Linked DNA regions of Homo sapiens: all the other regions are linked to region 3. Evidence: promoter capture Hi-C in human tissues and cell types (Jung and others, 2019). All regions are on one chromosome and are shown on one strand. Each heading gives the region's core, a stretch centred on a gene start or on the middle of the fragment in contact. The rest is flanking DNA. Distances are from core to core; before and after follow the strand shown. Region 1 overlaps FCHO1-AS1 (FCHO1 antisense RNA 1). Region 2 overlaps UNC13A (unc-13 homolog A). Region 3 holds the start of UNC13A (unc-13 homolog A).

Region 1 (4,491 bases), core at 1,606-4,105, 54 kb after region 3:
TTGCTACCTCTTAGTCCACTGCCTGGACCCTTCCTGACTCCCTCTCTTAAAAGTGTCCTGGCCAGGCATGGTGGCTTACGCCTGTCATCCCAGCACTTTGGGAAGCTGAGGCAGGCGGATCACCAGAAGTCGGGAGTTTGAGAACAGCCTGGCCAACATAGTCACACCCCGTCTCTACTAAAAATACAAAAATTAGGGCCGGATGCAGTGTCTCACTCCTGTCATCCTAGCGCTTTGGGAGGGTGAGGTGGGTGGCTCACCTGAGGTCAGGAGTTCGAGACCAGCCTGACCAACCTGGTTAGCGGGGCGTGGTGGCACACGCCTGTAATCCCAGCTACTCTGGAGCCTGAGGCAGGAGAATCACTTGAACCCGGGAGGCAGAGGTTGCAGTTACCCGAGATCGCGTCACTGCACTCCAGCCTGGGCGACAAAAGCAAAACTCCGTCTCAAAAAAAAAAAAAAAAAATTATTCGGGCGTGGTGGTGGGTGCCTGTAATCCCAGCTACTCGAGAGGATAAGGCAGGAGAATCGCTTGAACCTGGGAGGTGAAGGTTGCAGTGAGCTGAGATGGCCTGGGCAACAAAGTGAGACTGTCTCAAAATAAATAAATAAGGCCGGGCGCAGCGGCTCAACGCCTGTAATCTTAGCACTTTGGGAACACCTGAGGTCAGGAGTTTGAGACCAGCCTGGCCAACATGGTGAAACCCCGTCTCTACTAAAAATACAAAAACTAGCTGGACGTGGTGGCGGGCGCTTGTAATGCCAGCTACTCAGGGGACTGAGGCAGGAGAATCACTTGAACTCGGGAGATGGAGGTTGCAGTGAGCCGAGATCGCACCATTGCACTCCAGGCTGGGGGACAAAAGCGAGACTTCATCTCAAAATAAATAAATAAATAAATAAATAAATAAATAAATAAATAAATAAAGTGTCGTCCTGTCCACCAGCACATCTTCCTGTTGTATTTCCTTTTAATCCATAGCCCTAGCAGACTCTTACTTGTTTATATGTTTATATGTCAATATGTTTATATTGATTCCCCCAACTGTGAGCCCATGAGAGCTGCACCCTCTCCATCTTGGTTGTTTCTGGGTGCCCGCTGCCCAGGACAGGACCCAGTACCTGTACCCACACACCAGGTTCTTGGGAAATGTTGGTTGTGCCCCAGCTTGGCAGCACTGCTGGGTGACCTCGGGAATGTTCCTTAACCTCTCTGGGCTTCTCCTCTTCCCCAGTCTCAGAAATAAGAAAGTTGGCCTGAACCTCCAGGAAGAGCAGGGAGCCTTGGGCTGTTTTGGCAACTGGACCCCTGAGTTTTCTTCCCTGGCCTGTTCGGCCCCAGGCACTCCAGACAGGCCTGACCTATGTCATCCTGTCCTCCCCACCCCCTACAGCATCCTTTGGGATCTGGGCCCAGGGCAGGTGTGAGCTGTGGTACCAGCACACCCATGTCAAGTCCTGCCTCTGACGTGTGTTTGCTGTGTGACTTCCAAGAGTAGCTTGCTTTCTCTGAGCTCTGTTTCCCCTGGCCCAGGCTTGGGAGTGGAGTGTCTGGGGGAGTGTGGATGCAGTTCAGACCTCACCTGACAGGTGTGGATAGTACCAGGGCCAGGGCCCCCAAGAAGCTCCCAGGCTGGAGGGGGAGGGGGCAATGCCTAACATAACATCCCAGTCCTGGGGGATCAGCACTGGCTTGGAAGGAAAACCAGATGGGTTTTCAGGAGCCTGGGAAGCTAGCTGGAGGGCTTCTTGAAGGAGAGGACCACATAGGAACTAAGAGCTAAAGGTGGGAAGGAAATCTGGGATGCCAGAAGGAGGACTTCCTGGAGGAGGGGACCACATAGGAACTAAGAGCTAAAGGTGGGACGGGAGCCTGGGAGGCCAGAAGGAGGGCTTCCTGGAGGAGGGGACCACAAGAGCTAAAGGTGGGAAAGGAGCCTGGGAGGCCAGATGGAGGGCTTCCTGGAGGAAGGGACCATAAGAGCTAAAGTTGGGAAAGGAGCCTGGGAGGCCAGATGGAGGGCTTCCTGGAGGAGGGGACCAAACAGGAACTAAGAGCTCAAGGTAGGAAAGTTACCAGTCAGATGCACCCTGAGGTGGAACGGCTTTTGTGCCCCCTGCATTGAGGTGGGTAGAGAGAGGTGAGGACAGGAATGTAGGGAGGGCCGGACCCCATAAGCATGATGGGCTGCTGAGACAGGTTTGCAGTTTTTACCAAGAGTGCTGGGGAGTCTGGGGAGTGTTTCAAGCTGGAGAAAAAGGTGAGCAGTTTCTGTTTGAAACCCCACTGTGGGTCCCAGTTAAACATTCTGGAATTGCTACACACATGCACTTCAATGGAACAGCTGAGCACGTGAAGGTGATAGGACAGGCAAGCCTCAAAATTGGGGCTTAGTCTGAGAGGGTTCTTGGCTTCACCCAGGAAGGAATTTGAGGGCAAGTCAATTGTGTTAAACAGCAACTTTTCTTTTTCTTTTTTCCTTTCTTTTTTTTTTAAGATAGGGTCTCACTCTCATGCCCATGTTGGAGTGCAGTGCCATGATCTTGGCTCATTGCAGCCTCCAGGAGTCCTCCCACCTCAGCCTCCTGAGAAGCTTGGACCACAGGCACAGTCCACCATGCCCACCTAATTTTTTTTTTGAGATGGGGTCGTCTTGCTCTGTCACCCAGGCTGGAGTGCAGTGGCATGATCTCCGCTCACTGCTCCCTCTGCCTCCTGGGCTCAAGGGATCCTCCCACCTCAGCCTCCCAAGTAGCTGGGTCTACAGGCACAAGCCATGGAGCCCAGCTAATTTTTTGTATTTTTGGCACAGGCAGGGTTTCACCATTTTGCCCAGGCTGGTCTCAAACTCCTGAGCTCACGTGATCTTCCCACCTGGGCCTCACAAAGTGCCAGGATTGCAGGTTTGAGCCACCGCACCTGGCCTAATTTTTGTATTTTTTTTTTTTTTTTTTTTTTGTAGAGATGGGGTTCGGCCATGTTGCCCAGGCTGGTAAACAGCAACATTTTCTTCTTCTTCTTTTTTTCTGAGATGGAGTTTAGCTCTTGGAGTGTGATGGCATGATCTTGGCTCACTGCAACCTCTGCCTCCTGGGTTCAAGCAATTCTCCTGCCTCATCCTTCCAAGTAGCTGGGATTACAGGTGCCTGCCCCCACACCCAGCTAATTTTTTTGTTCTTAGTAGAGATGGGGCTTCATCATATTGGCCAGAATGGTCTTGAACTCCTGACCTCAGGTGATCCGCCCATCTCAGCCTCCCAAAGTGCTGGGATTATAGGTGTGAGCCACCATGCCTGGCCTTTTCTTTCTTTCTTTTTTTTTTTTTTTAGACAGGGTCTCGCCTTGTCACCCAGACTGGAGTGCAGTGGCACCATCTCGGCTCATTACAACCTCCACCTCCCAGTATCAAGTAAATCTCGTGCCTCAGCCTCTCCAGTAGCTGGGACTACAGGTGCCCACCGCCAGGTCTGGTCTGGCTTTTTTTTTTTTTTTTTTTTTGAGACAGAGTCTCGCTGTTGCCCAGGCTGGAGTGCAGTGGTGTGATGATAGCTCACTGCAGCCTCCAACTCCCTGACTCAAGCAATCCTCCAGCCTCAGCCTCCCGAATAGCTGGGATTATAGGCATGAGCCACCATGCCCAGCTAATTTCTGTATTTTTAGTACAGACAGGGTTTCTCCATGTTGGCCAGGCTGGTCTCGAACTCTTGACCTCAGGTGATCCACCCATTTCAGCCTCCCAAAGTGCTGGGATTACACCGCGCTTGGCCCTAAACAGCGGCATTTACTGAAATGGCCGTGTAGAGCAGCATCAGAGGTGCTGTTCCTTGCTGAGCAAGACCACTGTGCATAGGCAGTCCATCCAGAATAGTAGCTCACAGGCACAGCTGCACTCATATGTATACCCACTTTTAATTATATGCAAATGAAGGCCAGGCGTGGTGGCTCAAGTCTGTAATCCCAGCGCTTTGAGAGGCTGAGGCGGGTGGGTCACCTAAGGTCAGGAGTTTGAGACCAGCCTGGCCAACATGGTGAAACCCCGTGTCTACTAAAAATACAAAAATTAGCCAGGCATGGTGGTGTGCGCCTGTAATCCCAGCTACTCAGGAGGCTGAGACAGGAGAATCGCTTGAACCCAGGAGGCAGAGGTTGCGGTGCGCTGAGATTATGCCACTGCACTCCAGCCTGGGCAACAGAGCAAGATACCATCTCAAAAAAAAAAAAAAAAAAAAAAAAAAAAAATATATATATATATATATATATATATATATGTATATATATGCAAATTAAGGGGCAGTGTATGCAGAAACTTCCAGGAAAAGGGTGACAACTTCTGAGTCATCAGGGTTGTTGCCATGGAAAAGGGTGGTAACTTCTGCATGTTGTCATGGCAATGGTAAACTGACATGGCACACCAGTGGGCATGTCTTAAGGAAAGCCCCTTCCCTGGGGGTCTGTTTTATAATAGCTAGTCCTCAATTTGGTCCAATGTC
Region 2 (2,500 bases), core at 1-2,500, 41 kb before region 3:
CTTGTCCTTTGCCTGCAAGCCCTGGGCGCAGACCACTGGAAGACACAGAGGGCATACACAGGTGTGCACTCAAGAAGCGAGGCATGCTGGGGACAGTCACTGCCACACGCTGCAGGCTGATAATTGGGACACCTGCAGCATGGCTGGAGAGCAATGGCAGGGCACGCTGGGCTTGCCAGAGAGGTTTTTTGTGTGTTTGTTTGTTTGTTTGTTTGTTTTTGAGACAGAGTTTTGCTCGTCACCCAGGCTGGAGTGCAACCTCCGCCTCCCGGGTTCAAGCAATTCTCCTGCCTCAGCCTCCCAAGTAGCTGGGATTACCCGCACGTGCCACCCCATCCGGCCAATCGTTTTGCATTTTTAGTAGAGATGGGGTTTCACCATGTTGGCCAGGTCGGTCTCGAATTCCTGACCTCAGGTGATCCGCCTGCCTCAGCCTCAGCCTCCCAAAGTGCTGGGAAGGAGTCCCCAAACCATGAAGGATGGGAAGGTGCCCCAGCTGCCTTGCGCATGGGTAGGACCTCTCTCAGGTGTGAACTCCCTGAGGTCAGACACTTACAAGAACCCATTGCCCCCCGAGATCTCCTGCTCGTTGGTGCCCCCTGCAGGGTTCCTTCCCTCCCTGACTTACCACCCCAGCTCCGTCCTGGGGTCACTTCCTGGATAACCCACATAACCTGAAATCCTCATCCTCAGGTCTGTTTATGGGGAAACCCACATGAGGCTGGGTGTGGAGAAAAGCCAGTATCCTCGCCCCTAAGTGGGGCCACACTGAGCTGCATGCTCGACATTGTCCCCAGTGGCCCCAGGATGGGCTGACCCCCTTGCCCACAGCATTGTCTGCTCAACGGCATCTCCTTCAGGACTCCTTCCATCCCTGTCTCAAGTCCTTGCCCCTCACCAGGACTTTCTGGGGTCACTTTCCAGATAAACCATGCACCCTCAATTCCTCTTCTTGGAGTCTCATTCTGGAGGGCACCATCCAAGACGCACCCAGATACAGTGCCATGAACAGGCGTTTGGAGGCACGCATGTCCCCCCATATGCGTGCACACACGGAGATGAGATGGAATGCACCCGACCGAGTGAGTGCGCGCTGCAAAGGAGAGGGACCAGGCCATGGGACAGGGCATGAGACAGGTCTCAGAGGGTGGAGAAGGAGGGGCCCTATGGCGGCCCACGCCCCCTCACCGGTGATGCTGATCTTGGCGGACCACTTGGACGTGCCGTCCAGCACGCTCTGCTTGACCGCCTTCATCTGCTGCGTGTGCGCCGTCTTGGTCACCGCGAAGATCTCCTGGATGAGCTCGAAGATCTCGGGCTTGTTGCGCTCCCGGATCTTCATGCGGTCCTTGAGCACCATGATGATGTTCTGTGTCCGGTCCTCCGCCCCGTGCTTGGAGCTCTTCTCCGCAGCCCCTGAGGACGCCCGAGGCCGGCGCTGACCCCAGCGCGCCCTGCATAGTGGCCCCTCACCAAGGCGAGAGCCCCGCCCCTACTCATCAACCGGGGGGACTCAGGTGTCACCCCCTGAAGCCGGTTTCCTACCTGCTTTCTGTACCCCCCACCCAGACCCTTCACCCTTCCACCTCCTCTCGGAGCCATGCTCCTCTGAGTCGCCATGTCCCTGCGTCCTGCCCTTCTCTGCCCCGCACCCCTTGGAGTCCCCACTGGTTTTTGGAGCCCCACCCCTCTAAGGCCTCTTCCCTAAGCCCCACCCCTCTGAGTCCCCGCCCCCTCTGCGTCCCACCCCTCTGAATCTCCGCCCCCTCTCTGAGTCCCACCCCTCTGAGTCCCGCTGCCTCTCTGAGCCCCACTCCTCTGAATCCCCTCCTCGTCTCTGATCTCCACCCCTGCGAGTCCCCTCCACATTCCTGAGCCCCTTCCATCTCTCAGACCCCTCCCTTTCTCTTGGTCCCACCTCCTCTGAGTCCCCTCCCCCTTCCAATCCCCCCCTCCACAGTCCTCTCGCAGTCTGAACCCCTTCCCTCTCTGAGCCCCTCTTCCTCTCAGAGCTACCCCTAGCTAACCCATTTTATCCAGGGGAGCTGCCTCTTCTCACTAAGCCTGTCCTTTGCACAACCTAGCTAGTCCCTGAGCCCTGCCCCACCCCTCTCTGACACCCTCACAGCTTCTTTCCCCACCCCTCGACCCCCTAGCCCTTCCACCAGGGAGTCCTGCGCCTTTAACCCCACCCCTCCCTTTCAGCGAGTCCCTCCCCTGCCTCACGACGCCCCGCCCCTTGCCCCGCCCCATGGTGCCCCACCCATCGCCTTGCCCTTCAGCCTTTCCCCGCCATGCAAGCCCCGGGGCTCCCCACGCCAACCCGTGGCCCTGCGCTCAGGCCCTGCGCTCACGCTGCAGGCAGTCGGCGTTGAGCAGGTCCTGGCACTTCTCGTGGCACTTGACACCGCACTCGGTGCAGCGCATGCCCTGCCTCGCGATGCCCCACAGCAGCCCCTCGCACTCGTAGCAGTAGGTGGGCGTGGTGGCCGTCCACACT
Region 3 (4,104 bases), core at 170-2,669:
TCCCGAAGCCTGCAGTCTCAGGCTTGGCAGACACACCCCTTCCCCCACCCCAGCCTTCTTGAAATGGGTGGGAGTGACGGGGGGACCCCAGTCCTTAAGAACCAGGGGTTCAGAGCTCTGTAGGCGTGGAACGGCGGTCCACATCCACCCCTGCCGCCCAAGGTCTCCCAGAGTTTGATTTCTCAAACGGGAGTGCCCAGAACGCCTGGGTTCGGTTGGGCTGGCTTCCCCACGACCCCAGAGCCATAAAGGTGTGGGGTGGGGGGTCATGCCCCTCCCACGTCTCCCTCCCTCCTCCAACCCCAACGCAGAGCGTGGGCCTGGGCGTGGGCCTCTGTGCAGATGGCGTTCTGGCCCCAAAATAGCTCCCCCCCCACCTCACGTCTCCCTCCCTCCCTCTCTCCAGTGCAAAGTGGGTGAGGTGAGGATGGGCCAGGAGGGGGACCAGGAGACATTGCTCTTCCAAGAAGTAGGCTCCCTGCCGAGAAGGCCCTGAAACGTGTTTGGGAGAACCGGAGGGGGCAGGGAGCGGGAAGACCTTCTGGACATTCCTCCAACCCCCTCACTCGGGAGGCCAAAGAGTTAACTGGAAAAGCGCCCCCAGACCTCCAGTCACAGCCCTCTCTGGACGCTGGGAGGGGTCTCCTGTCTCCACACTCCCCCCACTCCAGTCCTCTTTACACCTAGGGCTGGGAGAGTCCTAGAACTCGTGGATGCCCTGATGGCCAAGCCCCTCTACCTATATCTTACATCCCCACGGCTTGGAGAACCCTCCCACCGCACTCTCCTTCGAATTTCCAGCCGGGTCCGCGTCCATGAGGACCCGTAACCCAGCCCACAACACCAGACCCCTTCCAAGCACCCCTGCAGGCTTCAATCAAACTACCGAGCCCAGACTCTTCCTCACTGACCCTCTAAAAACCTGGTCTACACAGACGCCCCAGTCTAGATCGTTTCCGGGTAGAACCCCGGATACCCGTCCACGTCCACACGGGCCTCCGCGTTCAGCCGCGTCCACACGACCCCTCCAGCAGCGGCCACCAGGACCCCCGAGAGCCCTGCCGCGTCTACACGGATCACCCCCTCCGGGGCCCAGCTGCGTCGACAAGGGCTACCCCTCTCAAAAGTCCAGCCACCTGGACTCGGGTCACCCCCCAGGAACCCCCTGGGAGCCGCATCCACGCGGACCCCGACCCCAGCCCGCGTCCACACGGGTCCCCCGACCCCCAGCCTCGCCTCCTACCTCCAACGCAAAGCAGAGACATGTCTCCGAGCTCGCAGGTGGGCCGGAGGCGGCCGGGCCGGCTCTGTCGGGTCGGGCTCAGCGGCCGCTGGGCTGGGGCATCTCCCGGCTGCAGCCCGCGCTTGGCTCACGCCGGGGCCCGGCCGCCACCGGCCATCTTGGTTCAGCACCGGGGGCGCGGACAGCGCCTGACGTGGCGCTGATGCGGGGCGGGCAGGCGGAGCCCAGGGACGCCTGATGGGGCGGGGGCGCTGCGGGCTGGGGGGGCGTTAAAGGGCCTGGCTCCGGGAAGGGGCGCCTCGCCCCACACCTCCTCGTTGCAGGGGGACAAGGGGCGACGGCGGCCCCCAAGCAGGTTTCCTCCTGTGCAGACCCTCACCTGCACTGAAATGGTGCACGTGCCCCCGCCACCCATGCATGGACATTCCTGCCCTGGTAACCTGGGCAAACGCCTCCCTGCAATACTCAAGCAAGTACAGGCAAATGCAAGCTCTTGTGTGTACGCCCGGCACCAGCACCGGGCAGATGGTCCTGTTCTCTGAGTATCTCTCTTCCTCTGTCTCTACGTCTCTGTCTCTCTAACTCTACTGCCTGGTCTCTTTCTCTCCCTGGGTCTCTGTTCCTCTGACTCTGTCCACTGCTCTCTCAGTCATGTGTCTCTTAGCCTCTCTCTGTAAAGTCTTTTTGCAGCTCTACTGCATCCTGTCTAGGTCTCTCTCTATGTCTCTAAGCCATCCAGCCCATGGGTCCTTGCCCACACTCTGAACTCCTTTTCATCCATCAATGTCTTGTCTGAATATCCTCTCCTCCAGGAAGGCTTCCCTGACTGCCCCAAGCTGAGCCTTTGTTTCTCCTCTCTGGACTCCCCCAGCCCCTATCCCTTCCTCTGATTGGGCCCTGACCCGAACGAAACTCTGCCACTCCTCCCCACTTTTCTTTTTTTTAGATGGAGTCTCCCTCTGCAGCCCAGGCTGGAATGCAGTGACGCAATCTTGGCTCACTGCAACCTCTGCCTCCTGGGATCAAGAGATTCTCCTGCCTCAGCCTCCCCGAGTAGCTGGGACTACAGGCGCATGCCACCATGCCCAGCTTTTTTTTTTTATTTTATTTTTTTTATTTTTAGTAGAGACGAGGTTTCACCATGTTGGCCAGCCTGGTCTTGAACACTTGACCTCAGGGGATCCGCCCATCTCGGCCTCCCAAAGTGCTGGGATTCAGACCTGAGCCACTGCGCCTGGCCCCCTCCCCACATATCAAACTGGGCAGCTCCATGTGGGCCCCTTGCCCTGCAACCTGCTCGCTGTATCACTGGCACCTAAACTAGCATGAAAGGCTGAGCCCCACAGGGTCTCCTGCCCCCAGCCCACATGAAAGAGCTTCATAAATGCAGAATGTGCATGGAGTTGAGTGAGGCCATTGTTCAAAACCAAACTCTGTCTCTCATCACAAGCATGGCCTTGGGCAGGTCTTGTGACCTCCTCGTGCCTCAGTTTCCGCACCTGTAGAATGAATATGATAACAAGTCCTGCCTCACAAGGTTGCTGGAGGTATTACATGAGTTAACATGTGAAACCAGTTGTAATTTTTTTTTTTTTGGAGGTGTAGTCTCAATCTGTGGCCCAGGCTGGAGTGCAGTGGCACCATCTCAGTTCACTGCAACCTCAACCTCCAAGTGATCTTCCTGCCTCAGCCTCCTGAGTAGCTGGGATTACAGGCGCTCGCCACCACATCCAGCTAATTTTTTTGTATTTTTTGTAGAGATGGGGTTTCACCATGTTGGCCAGGCTGGTCTCAAACTCCTGACCTCAAGTGATCCACCCACCGTGGCCTCCCAAAATGCTGGGATTACACGAATGAGCCACCGCGCCTGGCCCCAGTTGTAATCTTAATGCCTAATAGTAACCATGTTTGTATCTGTCACTGCTTTAAATTTTTAAAAAAATCAGCACAGCTAATTTTTGTATTTTTTGTAGAGACAGAGTTTCACCATGTCGCACAGGCTGTCTCAAACTCCTGGGCTCAAGTGATCCTCCCGTCTCAGCCTCCCAAAATGTTGGGATTACAGGCTCATGAGCCACCATGCCTGGTCTTAAATTTTTATTAAACATCAATGAGTAGATGTTTTATTAAACATTGATAATCAATAAAACATTGATGTTTTATTAAACATCAATGAGTAGATAAACTATGAGGAGCAGGCTTGGATAAAAAAAATTACCATCGACCGGGCTCGGTGGCTCACGCCTATAATACCAGCACTTTGGGAGGCTGAGGCGGGGTGATCACAAGGTCAGGAGATCGAGACCATCCTGGCTAACACGGTAAAACCCGTCTCTACTAAAAATACAAAAAATTAGCCGGGCGTGGTGGCGGGCGCCTGTATTCCCAGCTACTCAGGAGGCTGAGGCAGGAGAAAGGCGTGAATCCGGGAGGCGGAGCTTGCAGTGAGCCGAGATCGGGCCACTGTACTCCAGCCTGGGTGACAGAGAGAGACTCCGTCTCAAAAAAAAAAAAAAATACCATCACAATAAAAGACCCCCATGTGCCTCTCCCCAATCTCATAATCCTTCCCTGCAGATGGAAGAACTATCACAAATTTTGTTTTTCATTTTCTTCCTTTTCCTTATAGTTTACCACATGCTCCTTAGCAAACAATACATGGTTACCTCTTGCATGTTTCTATTTTTTTGAGACAAGGTCTCATTGTGTCACCCAGGCTGTAGTACAGTGGTGTGAGCTCCTGAGCTCAGACAATCCTCCTGTCTCAGCCTCCCAAGTACCTGGAACAACAGGCATGCACCTCCATGCCTGGCTAATTAGAGATGAGGGTCTCACTATGTTGCCCAGGCTTGTCTTGAACT

What was found. Contacts are between HindIII fragments. The study calls those that stand out against the background at their distance.
Region 1: a contact is called between a fragment that was not itself captured here and the fragment with the promoter of UNC13A in region 3, in 1 of the 25 tissues and cell types used here (mesenchymal stem cells).
Region 2: a fragment that was not itself captured here is called in contact with the fragment with the promoter of UNC13A in region 3 in 4 of the 25 tissues and cell types used here (bladder, mesenchymal stem cells, small bowel and 1 more).

What each region holds. Positions count from the first base shown.
Region 1 is chr19:17,739,695-17,744,185 of GRCh38, forward strand. The region is part of intron 3 of FCHO1-AS1 (FCHO1 antisense RNA 1); the gene reads right to left. Among named protein-coding and RNA genes, the nearest start is that of FCHO1-AS1, 9.5 kb to the right of the region's middle. RefSeq lists an enhancer at 4,166-4,460. The HindIII fragment of the contact is 3,992 bases long and covers 860-4,491 here.
Region 2 is chr19:17,646,077-17,648,576 of GRCh38, forward strand. It overlaps UNC13A (unc-13 homolog A), which reads right to left. Exons shown (of 44, transcript NM_001080421.3): 16 at 2,355-2,500; 17 at 1,189-1,416; 18 at 1-35. Among named protein-coding and RNA genes, the nearest start is that of UNC13A, 41 kb to the right of the region's middle. The HindIII fragment of the contact is 7,628 bases long and covers 1-2,500 here.
Region 3 is chr19:17,686,935-17,691,038 of GRCh38, forward strand. It overlaps UNC13A (unc-13 homolog A), which reads right to left and starts at 1,420. Exons shown (of 44, transcript NM_001080421.3): 1 at 1,244-1,420. The coding sequence starts at 1,265. RefSeq lists enhancers at 1-561, 562-1,522 and a silencer at 756-938. The HindIII fragment of the contact is 19,419 bases long and covers 1-4,104 here.